Regions from separate parts of the Homo sapiens genome. Here region 2 is linked to region 1. The links are contacts of gene promoters, found by promoter capture Hi-C in blood cells and fetal thymus (Javierre and others, 2016). All regions are on one chromosome and are shown on one strand. Each heading gives the region's core, a stretch centred on a gene start or on the middle of the fragment in contact. The rest is flanking DNA. Distances are from core to core; before and after follow the strand shown. Region 1 holds the start of PCP4 (Purkinje cell protein 4). Region 2 has its middle 80 kb from the start of LINC00323.

Evidence for each region. The method cuts DNA at HindIII sites, captures the fragments that hold promoters and counts their contacts. A CHiCAGO score of 5 or more calls a contact.
Region 2: a fragment that was not itself captured here is called in contact with the fragment with the promoter of PCP4 in region 1 in 1 of 17 cell types (M2 macrophages); the score reaches 7.1 in M2 macrophages.

The regions. Positions count from the first base shown.
Region 1 is chr21:39,865,309-39,871,648 of GRCh38, forward strand. It overlaps PCP4 (Purkinje cell protein 4), which reads left to right and starts at 2,130. Exons shown (of 3, transcript NM_006198.3): 1 at 2,130-2,202. The coding sequence starts at 2,194. RefSeq lists a silencer at 4,028-4,181. The HindIII fragment of the contact is 4,692 bases long and covers 1-3,716 here.
Region 2 is chr21:41,064,211-41,070,953 of GRCh38, forward strand. No RefSeq gene overlaps it. Among named protein-coding and RNA genes, the nearest start is that of LINC00323, 80 kb to the right of the region's middle. The HindIII fragment of the contact is 9,228 bases long and covers 1-6,519 here.

The sequences.
Region 1 (6,340 bases), core at 880-3,379:
TGTTTTAACTTAATCACCTCTTTAAAGACCTTTTCTCCAAATAAGGTCACATTTTGAGATATTGAGGGTTAGGACTTGAATGTATGAATTCTGGAGGAAGGCAATCAGCTCAGACCATAACCCATTCTCCCCAATAGTCTTCATAGTCCCTTGGTTGGTCCCAAAGAATTGCTGAGTCTACCCAGCAAAGCCTCAGCCCAGCCCTGCACCTCCAATCCTGCCCCTCTACTTGGAGCCTCAGCACTAATTGCTGTGCTGCCAACCTCAGGCTGCTGCAGCCCTTGATGTGTCTTTGTGTTGTTAGAAAATGCAGGTCTGCTCCAGAGCCAGCCAGCAGAGCACAGGCTGATTCTCCACATGCCCTCTGCACAGCCTGGAGGACCACAGCAGGGACCCCATGGAGGCTCACACTGGGAGACCCCTTCTACACCTCCAGGCTGTGGGGGTCCAGCCCCCAACAGGGCAGGAGGCCCCTGGGGAGGGTGTGGTTTTTGCCCCTGAGAAATCACAGGTGTCTCCTAGTATAGATAAGCAAGCACCCTTCTTCCAATCTGTCAATCTGTCCTACATCGCAGATGACACTATGGCTCCAGTTCCTCACCCTGCCCTCCTCCTCCTTCTCTCCCACTACTAACCACCTGGGCAACCCTAAAGGCATCCCACGTGGGCCTTCCCAAGCGTGGCATTGGGGGCAAGGAGGAGGAGGGGAGTGAGAGAAGGAGGATGCTGTCTTCATTAGTTTGCAAATGATTTGTGTGGTCAGGATATGTAAATAAATAATTTATATACATATAAAAGAAACGAATATAACACACATATTTTATATAATATATATAATGTTCATTTCTGTCGCTCTGTGAAATATAGGTTATTTTATAATAACTCATGTATGAGACTCTGTCTTGCTGGCTGGTGTTCCCACGCTGTGGGCGAGGGTGCTGACCAGCTGGTGCTCCTGGCCAAGGCCTCTGAGGGCAGCCTGTGCTCGCCGGTGCCCATTTGGGGGCGCATGGCCTTCTGCTTGCTGTCCAAGGTGGACCTGAGGATGTGGTCGCATCGGTGACCTGGGCATGTAAGGAGGGCAGTCCAGGTCAGAGGGCGTGGGGCTGCTGAGCTGAGGAGAGAGGGTTGATGGGCTGGAGTCTGGTGGCCTGCTCTGCACAGGGAGATGAGGGGTGCTGGGGACGGGTGGCAAGACGCTTCAATCTTCTCGCCAGACCCTCTCAGTCCTGTACCGGGACTGGCAGAGTAACAGATGTGAATGTGCCTTCAGTCTGCACAACGCTTTTTTGGGACAGTTGAGGGCCCACTCTGATGCCTTGAAGACTCTTCAGAGCCTCACGATGTTGGGACTGAACAAAGGATGGAACCTCTTCCCGGAAAAGCTGAACAGGACTAAGGCAAGGAGACCTTCAACCAGGCCAGGGCCAATGCCCAGGCTCCTTCCTGGCCCCACTGTGGTTGTGAGGAGGGCACATCAGCAAGGCTGCTGGAGCCGCTCGCCTCCTTTGTTGAGGTCGTGGGGACCCATTCCCATGTCCCAGTCCATCTACTCTTATCCTTCCAGCTCAGGGTACAAGCAGGGCGACAGATATGGGATAGGGGAGAGACAGCAGAGATATTAAAGTCCTTGGGCTGAGTTTTGTGTTATAAAGGGCAAGGGAAACACAGCTCCTGGGAAAACCTGAAAGTGCGTGAGCGGGCACGCAGGTATTTTCAGAGCTCCTCTTCCCTTAGAAAAACAATCCTTCCCATTGACATTTGAAAGGTATTTTACATGCATGTAAATCTTGCACTCATTGAAAAACGCACAATGGCATCCCTGTGATGATCTTTGAAACTTTAGCTTTTACTTTTTACTTTTTTTTTTTTTTTAAAAGAGACAGGGTCTCGTTCTGCTGCCCAGGCTGGAGTGTATTACTTTTTAAAGAAATCGAGCATTTCCTTCCATCCTGGCGGAATTTGGAGCAGCGACCTAACGTGCCGTTCTCTTTTGCACCACTAGGTGGCCCCTGGTGCTCTCAGATGTCGGCCAGGCTTGCAGACAGGTGAATGCATCTCATTGGCTCCAGGGAGGCATGATGCCACCGGGCAGCTCTTTTTAAGAGAAAAGCCAGAACCGGTGGAGCAGCGACCCCTGAGCAGTGTTCTCTGTGCTGAGCGGCGGGACTGAGCTGTTGAGTTAGAGCCAACATGAGTGAGGTGAGTGATGCTTCGACCTGGAGAGGGAAACTTAGGAGTGAGAAGGGACCTCGGCTGAAGGATTAGTCTCAGGAAATGTGAGGGACTTAGCAGTGCTGAGGAACAAATTAATCCTGTAATTATTTGCTTGGAGAACTGACAGGATTAATCTCTTGGTTTGAATGGTAAGTGCAGAAATTGGTTAAGTTTGCAACTTCTACAATTAGCCTGAGGAGGAGAAAGGTTTGCTTTCTGATTGAATGGTGACTTTGAAAAGTGCTTTGGGTTTTAGAGCTCAGAAGAGAAAGCCAAATGTTTTATTCTCTTACGAAGATGCGTGTCTTTGCATGATTCCCGCGGTGATACCTTTCAGAATGTGAGTGGGCAGGTGGTCATCTGGTGAATGCAAGCCATGGAAGGGAAGGGGACAAGGTGGGGAAAGGGCTGGCCGTTGGGTGGCATTTCATGGCTCAGTTGTACAAACTACCTCTGCAGTTAATCAGAGCACCAGGGAAAGAAATGCAAAAAGTAGTAGGAACTGGGAAACATCCGTGTGTATAGATCTGTGGCTCTAAGACCGGAGGCGGCCCCGGCAGAAGAAGAGCTACAATTTTGCAAATCCAAAGTCACTTCTCTAAACTTGTTTATACAGAATGTGTTTTACTGGGGCCAACTGACAGCACGTTTGTTTTTCTAAAATCATCTTCTCCTTTTTTCTCATCTATGAAGCAGATTAGCGGTGGTACAACACCATTCTCTAATTCAACTCAATAACCGAGCCAAATGCATCTTCATTTCCTCTTGGTTGGCACTTAAATAATTACTTTTAAAGATCTTTTATCTTCTCTGTCTCTTTTTGACAGATGGATGATTCTTTTCTTGGAAGTCTAGGATAAAATTAACAACTTCAGAAATAAAATGCCTCCTCCCTGCTTTTATCTCTCTGATGGGTGATTTTTGATGTAAACATGACAAGAAGAAGAGCAAAGCACTATAAAACTTAGAAATGGGGTTTAGGACAAAGCCAGGGGTTTGAGGCAGGGAGAGACCAACTGTGGGGTGGAAGATGGGAATTCTCCCACCACCACAATCAATGGTACCTGTAACAGCAGCTAACACTTGCCTAATGGTCTGTGTGCCGACAGTGTCAGGCTGTCTCTGCATCTGTCACCTTCTTTGAACCTCTCAACAACTCCGTGCAGTGGGCACCATTATTATTCCCAATTGACAGATGAGGACACTGAGGCACAGAGATGGGAACTAAGTGGTTTGAGGTCACCAGCTAAAGAACAGTAGAGCCAAGACTTGGGCTGCAATGCTGGGTGGTTGACTGCCGGGTGAATCTTGATGTCTAAATGTGTATGGAATTTGCTGAACAGAGGGGATGGCAGAGGTTGGAGGAGGAGAGGGGAGGTGAAGAGAAAGAAAGAAAGGAGCTGGGGCTCTGAAATAGAGATGGAATGATGAGGATGAGACCTCCATTTCCCACATGCTAGGAGGAGGGGCTTTCTGCTGGACTCTACAGATATTTCAGAAGCTTCTGTGTCCACATCAGCTCACCTTGCTTGCAACAAGAAGGGATGGCTGCGTGGAGTGGTTTTTCTTTATATACAACTTATCCAATAAGAGTTTCCTATAGAAGAAGGACTTAGAAAGCAGCACAGCACTGAGGGGTGGCCTCTCGGGTCAAGTCAGCTACCCTGGGATTCTGGCTCAGTCATGCCGTCACTTGCTGAGGCTTCTGGCCAGCAAGGTGCTCATGAGCTCTCCAGGATGCTCAGCTCTGCTGGGCTCACTCAACTGTGCGGGTCTCCAGGGAGAAAGCGCGTGTTCCAGAGCTCACCTGTGATTAGGGTCACAGCCTGGTTCCTGCTGAACGGGTAATCAGGGCAGCTCTGTAGTCACCGCCCCGCCATGGCGCTTATCAGACACATTTGCAGGTTCTTGCAGGAGCTCTTGCCTTAGTTCCTTTAATGTGGATAAAAGCACACAAGGGGCACATCCCACTTTTCTGCCTCCCCTTGCTGCTCACAAAACCCCTCCCAGCTCTCTGCTCCTCATCCTCCCTCCTGCCCTCTTCTCCCCCTCACATCACATGAGGCCTCCTCCCTCTGACCATCAGCATGGCCACCGCTCCTGGCTGATCTCCAAGTTCCTGGGCATGTGCTCCTTGGAGAGCAGGAATTTGTCCTTTGACTAAACCTCAAATCTGCTTAAAATCTTTAGTAAAGTGCAACAGAAGCTCCTTTCTGGGTAGAGAACTCGATTCCCCCTTCATGGCACCCCTCAAGGGGTTTCTTTGGTTGGATGAATTAAATGTGGCTCCTAGTTTTAATAACTCTCAGGCAGAAATGGCTTTCAGATCATCATTTACTTGCATGTGTGACTAATTACCAAAGAAAGCCAGAGCAATGGATTTTGCCAGACTTTCCTTGACCTTAGGATTGATTGGGGTCTGGTGGGCCAATAGTGCCTGCTGCAGTGCCAGGGCTGAGTGCCTGCTGCAGAGGCTCCGGAGCTCATTAGCTGCTTACCCAGGCCAGTGGGCAAGCCTGCTGGCTGGAGAGGACCCCAAAGTGTCATATACTCCCCGGGGCCTGCTCTGCACTTCCAGGCCTCCCCGCCTTTAAGGGAAAGGTGGAGTGGCAAAGGGAGCCTCGAACTGGCTTTAAACTGGGCAGCTTTACAACAAGACGTCTTCTTTATTTCCTGTAACAACACTTTTTAGGGGAAATGACATGTGATAGAAAAGAACAGCTCAGGAAAGTAAAGTACAGCGAGGAAAGTAAAGTCCAAATTTAGGGTAATGTGAGAGAGAGGAGGTGGTTTGTGGGGGTGTCTGATTTACATTTTGGTATTAAAATATGTCAGATGTGCCTGGAGCAATCTATGAGATGAATTGGAAGAGAATGTAGCAGGGATCAGAATGCAGGCTTAAGTCTATCAGCTGGATCAGAAATCTTAACCATCACAGCCTCAGTTTACAAGGTGCATTCTTTCTCCCTCATCGTACTCACCCAGGCACAAGAAAAATGACTACCTTTGTTCAGCCACTTCATAGAGCTTTTGAAAAAAGAGTTCCTGGAATAATGACAGTCAGTCCCACGTTCTCCTTTAGGTGTCTATTTTTAAGTTGCTTTTCAAAAGAACTCATTTAGGAGAGCTAGGGGCAAGGTTGGAAGGCATAAGGACAAACATCTGAGCGTGAATTTAAAAACGTGACGCCCTTGCCCTGTTTAGGGTGCGGGTTGGAGACGTTCCAGGTCACGTAATCAAATGACAGCTATTAATTGGACTTGAGACCCCTTTGGGAAAAGCCTCTTCGTAACCCCGAGTTTCACGGTCATGGGCTGGGCTTTTTTCTTGCTTTGGCGTGGATGGGAAAGTGCAACTCAGTACAAGGGCTGTGGCTCTTTCTTTCGTCTAGACATTGGCCGCAGGGCAAGGCGATGCCCATCAAAGGCATGGTTTGAAAAACATCAAGGACATTTAAGGGTAAATCTTTAGATACACATGTCTGTTCTTAGCACCCAAACAGAATCCATGTCGAACTTAATGTATACGTTAAAACGTACAATAATCTCTAAAGGAAGAAGAAAGCTGTAAATGGCATTTTTCTTGACAGAGATTGCAAACGGGAGGCTACATGCAGTTAACTCGTGAGGTGAGGACATAGAAAAAACATGAATTAAAAAAATGTTTTGCCACTGATTTTAAAATATCATACATACAACAGTGGTTTGGGGCTTACATAGTTGACTCTCACGATTGCCCAGTGGAGGGACTAAGGTTAAAACGAAACAGATCCTAAGAAGAGAAAGATTATGGCTTTGAGCTTCTTACAACGTAAGGGTAAACTCAAACAGATGCTAATGGGTGGCTGATTAGATTTGTAAGGAGCTGTATATTTTAGACCAGTTGTTAAGCACAGATTCTGAGGGTGACTGCATAAAATGTGGGTTTTGCAAATGGTCTGCAAAACCCAGCAACAAAGGTCAAATGACAATTCAACTTCTTATGTAATTATAACCCCATTTGAGGGTGTACCTGCAGCAAGGACTCTGACAGATCAAGCAAGATCAGTTTTAGTTTCGTTGGACAACACCATGAAAGATACTCTTTCCTCTAATTGGGGATATTAAGTCCACATAGTCACCAG
Region 2 (6,743 bases), core at 656-3,155, 1.2 Mb after region 1:
AACTTGGTAGAACGCAAAGGTCTGGGAAATAGGCTGTAGGAATCCTGGGCTCTTAGCATGCGGTGTTGTTTGGAGGTGACTAGCTAACTGTTAGGAGTGATTTTATCCAAAAGGTGGAAGTCTGTCTCCTGGTGTCCTTAAGTCATGGGGATTAAGGTTCCGGAAGAAGCAATTCCAGGGTTTCTAATGGTCCCTGGAGTTTCTCGGCACAGAGCTCAGCCTCCTGCTGCCCTCCCCAAGGCGAGACGGGGCTCAACAGGCCTGTCTACAAACGGCCTTGCCGCTGCTGCTCTGCTCCTTGCAGGGCCTCCACACTGGCCGCAGCCCAGGATCCAGATGACATCAGGACTAGATTCCGAATCAGCTGCCAAGGCTGTTGTGAATTTAATTTCATAGACATTGTTCTGCTAAGTTGATGCCAGGACAGATGATGGGTATGAGAGCAAGAAATGAGATTAGCGATGAGCAAAACCAGACGAAGGGGAAAAGAGAAATTTCTAATTGCACATAACTTAAACCTCATTTGCGTTCCACTCTGACGCAGCCAGGCCAACTCCAAACCCACAGAGATGTGTTTAGTGCAAACATACTTCTGTTAAACCCTGACCTGAGTCCTCGCTGTCTGTTACACACAAACACAAAGTGTCGTTGTGTCTAGAGGGCTGTGGGCATCTCTGCTAAGAGGTGCAATCATTAAAGGCAGAGAACTGTCTCCCACTTCATTTTCCTAGCTCCATAAACATTTGTTGACTGAATAAATGAGTGCCTGGGTCTGAGCAGAGATCTACTAGAAGTCACCACAGAATGTCACAACCTGGAGCCAAAAGACTGCATGATCTCAACTCGGCCTGGTGGCTCACGCCTGTAATCGTAGCACTTTGGGAGGTTGGACGCACAGGGGATAACAGGTCCCACTGAGACACAGTGGCCATCTAGTCCAGGCCTCTGTCAATGGGTGGCCTCCTGCTGTCTGGGCAAAGACCTGACCTGTGTGGACGTGAGAGACCGAGGTTTATGCACAGGCTCATGGTGGAGAGACTAAAACAAGCACAGCCCAGACAAAGTCAGCGGTGATGCTGGGAGGAACTCCAAGATCGTCTGCTGAGGTGGGCAGATCACTTGAGGTCAGGAGTTCAAGACCAACCTGGTCAACATGGTGAAACCCTGTCTCTACTAAAAGTACAAAAATAAGCTGGGCATGGTGGTGTGTGTAGTCCCAGCTACTCGGGAGGCTGAGCCAGGAGGATTGCTTGAGCCTGGGAGGCAGAAGTTGCTGTGAGCTAAGATTGCACCACTGCACTCCAGCCTGGGTGACAGAGTGAGACCGTCTCAAAAAAAAAAAAAAAAAAACGAAGACTGTGTGATCTGTTAAGGGAAAGACAGCTGCAAAGTTGTCTTGCTCCTAAATGTATGACAATCAAAAAAACCAGAGTTGTTACAATTAGTTAGAATCCTGAGATAAGGAGCATTTTAGAGTTGTAATCTTGCAGAGTCATGCAGTGACTGGCAGCGATAAGAATTCAGCATTCCAGATGTTTTTTCAACACTTCTGTCCACCACGCTGCTTAGGGCTTCATTCACAATTGCTCCATTTCAACATGCCATGTGTCTGAAGTCTATGCAGTCATCATCCCTCAGAAAGACTCGTGGTTCTGCATGTGTCTAGGATAGACTGACACTAACTTGACTTGCCTATTACTGTTCTAGAGTGGTTGCTAGTTAAAATGATTGCCATGAAACTTCTCAAGATAGACTGCCAGGGAAACATGTTACATCAACCATGTTCTTGAGTAAGAATGTAAATGAATACATTCCCTATTCCAGGGACATATGAGGTAGACCTTAGCCCTAACACAGCAGGGGTTTTGCACCAGGAAAGCCACAGAGCAGACAGACGGTCTTGGAGTTCCTCCCAGCATCACCTCGGACTTTGTCTGGGCCGTGCTTGCTTTAGTCTCTCCGCCATGAGCCTGTGCGTAAACCTCGGTCTCTCACATCCACAGAGGTCAGGTCTTTGCCCAGACAGCAGGAGGCAACCCATCGACAGAGGCCTGGACCACATGGTCACCGTGTCTCAGCGGGACCTGTTATCCCCTGTGCATCCAACCAGATCCCATAAGAAGGCAGCCTTCTCACCCAGACCTAGATTGGACCAAGTGTGTGGACTCTACTTGATACACTGAAATGTTCAATGTATTTTAAACAACTAATCTCAATATGTTATTGAATTCCCAAGAACCTCTTTGGTGAAATTGATTTTGTAAGCCTCACACGCCCTGGGGGTGCCCCGCCACCCCATTTAGAAGGAACAGGGTGGCTGGTGGGTGATGCAGGGGTCTTGGCCACACCTGTGTCTTTGTCTTGTCATTGGAAAAGTGGAGATGATGGCAGAGCCTCCCTCTCAGGCTCAGTGCAAGGACTAATGAGAGAAAATATGCATCCAGTGAAGAAATAAGTGCCCAACCAATGTTACCTCTTATCACTATGAACTGCAGCTGAGGAATCTAAGTTCCGGGGACGGGGCCAAAAACACAGCAGGAGGATCACGGGGCTAAGAAGAAGATTCCTACCTGCCAAATCTCAGGGCCGTGGGGAAGTGCTAGCAGTTCACAAAGCAACTCAGGGCCCTGCTCAGAAGTGAGTTTTTTCCTTTTCCCCCTGGAGGAATAAGCAGATTTTAGGTGATATACAAAGACAATCACATTTTGGAAAGCAAACCCCGGGACATTGTGCAAATATGCACACACATTCATATACACATACAACACACACACACAACACACACACATACATACACACACAACACACACATACACACACAACACACACACATACATACACACATACAACACACACAACACACACAAATACATATAACACACACACATACATACACATAAACAACACACAATACACCCACACACACATACATACACACATACAACACACACAACACACACATACACATGTATACAGAGGTACGTTTTACATGTTTATATTTTCTAATGTAAAGGCAACATCAACTGTAGAAAATTTGAAAAATATTGAAATGTATGACAATAATTAGAAGCTACTCATAATCGCATAATCTCAACATCAGGAAAATTCGCAGTCGACATTCTGGGAGTTTTCCCCTAAACACATGGATATTTTGGGACAATAGCCCTATCCATACATCTTTGTATAATATCCTTCTTTTGTTGATGTGCCACTTCAAGAATTTACTCGGTTTTACAAGACAAAATTTTAAAGACAGAGAAAATCTTCCCATGCTACCATATGTATTTTTCCTCTTTAGGGGTTTTATAGTCTGACACACAAAAGTCACCATTCAGAACCCTAAGTGCATGGGGTCAGTCCCTCTCAGCCACGTCGAGACTTTAATACCAGAGACATGGACAGGCGATACCTCCTCCCCAGGACCAAGGACTGAGTGATCTTGATGGTGAAGAGGTGACTGAATTCTTCAAATGGGCACTGCATACAATCAGGTCCACAGGGATGCAGGATGGGCAGGCATCCCATCTGTGCCCAGTCTGGGGGCAGTGGAGCCAAGTTGGCTACCTGAAAGCATCAACCTTGATGGCAGGAGGCTCAGTGTCCCCACAGAGATGCAGTCCCGGTTTGGGCTCTCCAGGAGGCAGGCTCCATCTTTCCCGTGTCTGCCCAGAAATCTCTGCTCCTATGTCACCCGACATTCTGTTGCTTGGTAACTAGAGCACCTAATTATTCTACTAGGAGGTCAAAGAAATGCCAGCAACCCCATTACATAGACCCAAGAAAGTCAGACATAAGGCATTCATTTGCATAAGAGAACTTTATTTTTCAGCTAGAGATAGGAAAGAAAGAGACTCCAAAGTTCAGTGTATTTTTGCTAATACGAAAGCAAGATGACCTGGAAAATAAAGTGCAGTACAAAAAAAAAGTGACGAAAAGCAAGTTAGAAGAGGTTTTTGGTGTTTGATTTTTGGTTTTTGTTTTTAATTCCTGAAATTGTTCATAGACAAGGAGTAGTGAATGGTCAAGGAGGGAAAGTACTTTTTCATCATTGAGAAGAGAAAATGCTTTTTAAAAATCTGTTAGATAATGAGTTGTTTTCTAGTAAAGATTTCTTAAAGATCATGGGGTTTTTTTGGTTTGAATTTTGTTTTTTTGTCATTTTTGTTTTTGAGTGGAGTTTTCTTTTTAACTAATTCTAGGTTATCAGGTTTAAAAATAATAGAGTTGTTTTTTACGTTTTTTGTTGACAATATCTGTGTGTTTTTATCTGACTCTCTGTGGCTATAATTGCCAGAGTTTCATTTCCTAAAGAATTCTTCCTTTTACTCTTGGTTGTTTGCTAAAAATATCCCAGCTGCCTGTAGACAATGGGCATGGCTGCCGCCTAGCCAGCCCCCTGCCAGTGGAGTGTTCTGCTATTCATAGCTAGGTCCTCTTCAGACACGTGAAGACTGGAGGTCCTGATTTCTATGTCTTCTCTAAGTAATGCCATGAGTGACTGCAGGGGCTTTGGAGAAACATTTCGCGTTCCCAGCCATACCCATCTCTAGATAGATATGACTCGCTCCACACCATTACAGAGTCGAGAAATGCTCTCTCATTTCCTGATTGTCTCCCAGTCAAATTTCACACCAACGTTGCAGCACACCATGGGCCTCTGCCTGCCTTGAGTGGTATTGGATACCCCAGAACCGCCCATCCCGTTTAAAATACCCCAAAAATGCTGCTAACTGCCCCCTGGAACCAGAAAAGCTCGGAAGCAAAGAACGAGGCGGGCTGGGAGAGAGGGGAGAAAGATTGTTCCTTGAGAATTCCGTTCACCGATGAAAACTGGCGAAAAAATTAAACAGCTCCCATGTTGCTGGGCTCCCGCGTTCCTTACGTCACCCGGCACTCTTGCTTGGTGCGTGCTGGCTGACTTGCTCTCCGCACCTGCTCTGGACCAGCGCTCCTCCCGGGTCTGCGCATCCGCGGGGAGCGGGAGGCCCGGAGCTGCAAGGGTCGGTCCGCTCGCGCCCTCTGCTGGCATTGAGGAGTCACGACCTGGTCGAACCGGCCACTTGGACCTGAGTTGCTCGGTGTTGCCCTCAGGGCCATTTCACCCAAAACCTCCTGTTCATTTTGAAGGCTTATCATAGCCCAGACATATCCCCTATGGCTGAAAGAATGCAGGAAATAATTAATTGGAAAGCACATGTGAAAAATAACATACACAGGATGGTGGGGCTGCACCATCAATGTGAATGCACTTAATGCCACTAAACCGTACACTTGAAAATGGTTAAAAAGGTAAATTGTAGGGCTGGGCATGGTGACTCATGCCTGTAATCCCAACACTTTGGGAGGCTGAGGCGGGCGGATCACTTAAGGTCAGGAGTTCGAGACCAGCCTGGTCAACAGGGTGACACCCCATCTCTACTAAAAATACAAAAATTAGCTGGGCATGGTCGCGGGTGCCTGTAACCCTAACTACTAGGGAGACTGAGGCAAGAGAATCACTTGAACCCAGGAGGCAGAGGTTGCAGGGAGCTGAGATCATACCACCACACTCAAGCCTGGGCGACAGAGCGAGACTTTGTCTCAAAAAAAGAAAAAAAGTAAATTGTATGTTGTGTACATTTTACCACAATTATATATATACACATATGATGCCAATGAGGGCATGTGAAAAGAAGAGCAATTGTGCTGACACATCTAATGTGCTGCTCCCAATCCACTTGAAGCCTTCTTCTTTCCCCTGGCCACGGAGAAGTCACAGTCGGTGCCCAGGGCTGGTTCCTGGGTAGGGAGGGTGATGGGGTACAGAAAAGGTAGCCCAGGGCCTCAGGGGGGGCCTGGGCAGAGTGTGGTGGTCACACAGCAAAAACTGCCCCCTCCCTCCCCATGTTATTCTCCACCTCCCTCCTCACTCTCCCCAGAGTGTACGAGAGAGACTCATGGCAGCCCCAAAAATGGAGCCATGAAGGGCTTTAAAGAACCATATATTTGCCAAGTATGGTGGCGCATGCCTGTAATCCCAGCACTTTGGGAGGCCATGGTGGGAGGATCACTTGAGGCCAGGAGTTTGAAACCAGCCTGGGCAACATAGTGAGGCTCTGTCTCTACAAAAAAATTAAAATTAAAAAAAAATTAGCCAGGCTTGTGGTGCACCTGTAATTCCAGCTGCTTGGGAGGTCAACACAGGGGAATTGCTTGAGCCTGGGAGTTTAAGGATGCAGTGAGCCATGATCAATGGCATCACTGCACTCCAGCTGGAAAGACAGAGCCAGATTCTGTCTCAAAAAAAAAAATGTATGTTTAATCCTTCAATCCCCTCCTTTTCAAAGTTCAGTGTGGTGAGGAAGATTGGAAAGTGGAGAGGCGCCCTGAGCAAGCTGAGAGAAGGGGCACAGGGACAGCCATCACCCCACACGCAGAGTCACCCAAAGACATTCACTCCAACAGGAAAACTCCAAAACTTGAGTCCAAAATCCAAACCAGAAAATAAAATGGACCGTGCTGTATAAACAACAAAAGACAAGCTTCTCTCTCTCTCCCGTCTATCTGTGTCAAGCTCTCTGGAGGAAATGGACGCTCGCTAGGAGGAAAAGAAGGATGGAGGGAGAGGTAGGAAGAGACGGTATGATGAGGGACAGGGTAGAAGAGGACTGGGCAGCCTGCCCGCCTGGAACCCACTGTCTAGCTTCCCACCGCAGACTCAAGGGATGCTCGCGGCTAAGAGCCTCAAGGGATGTCGGGGCTAA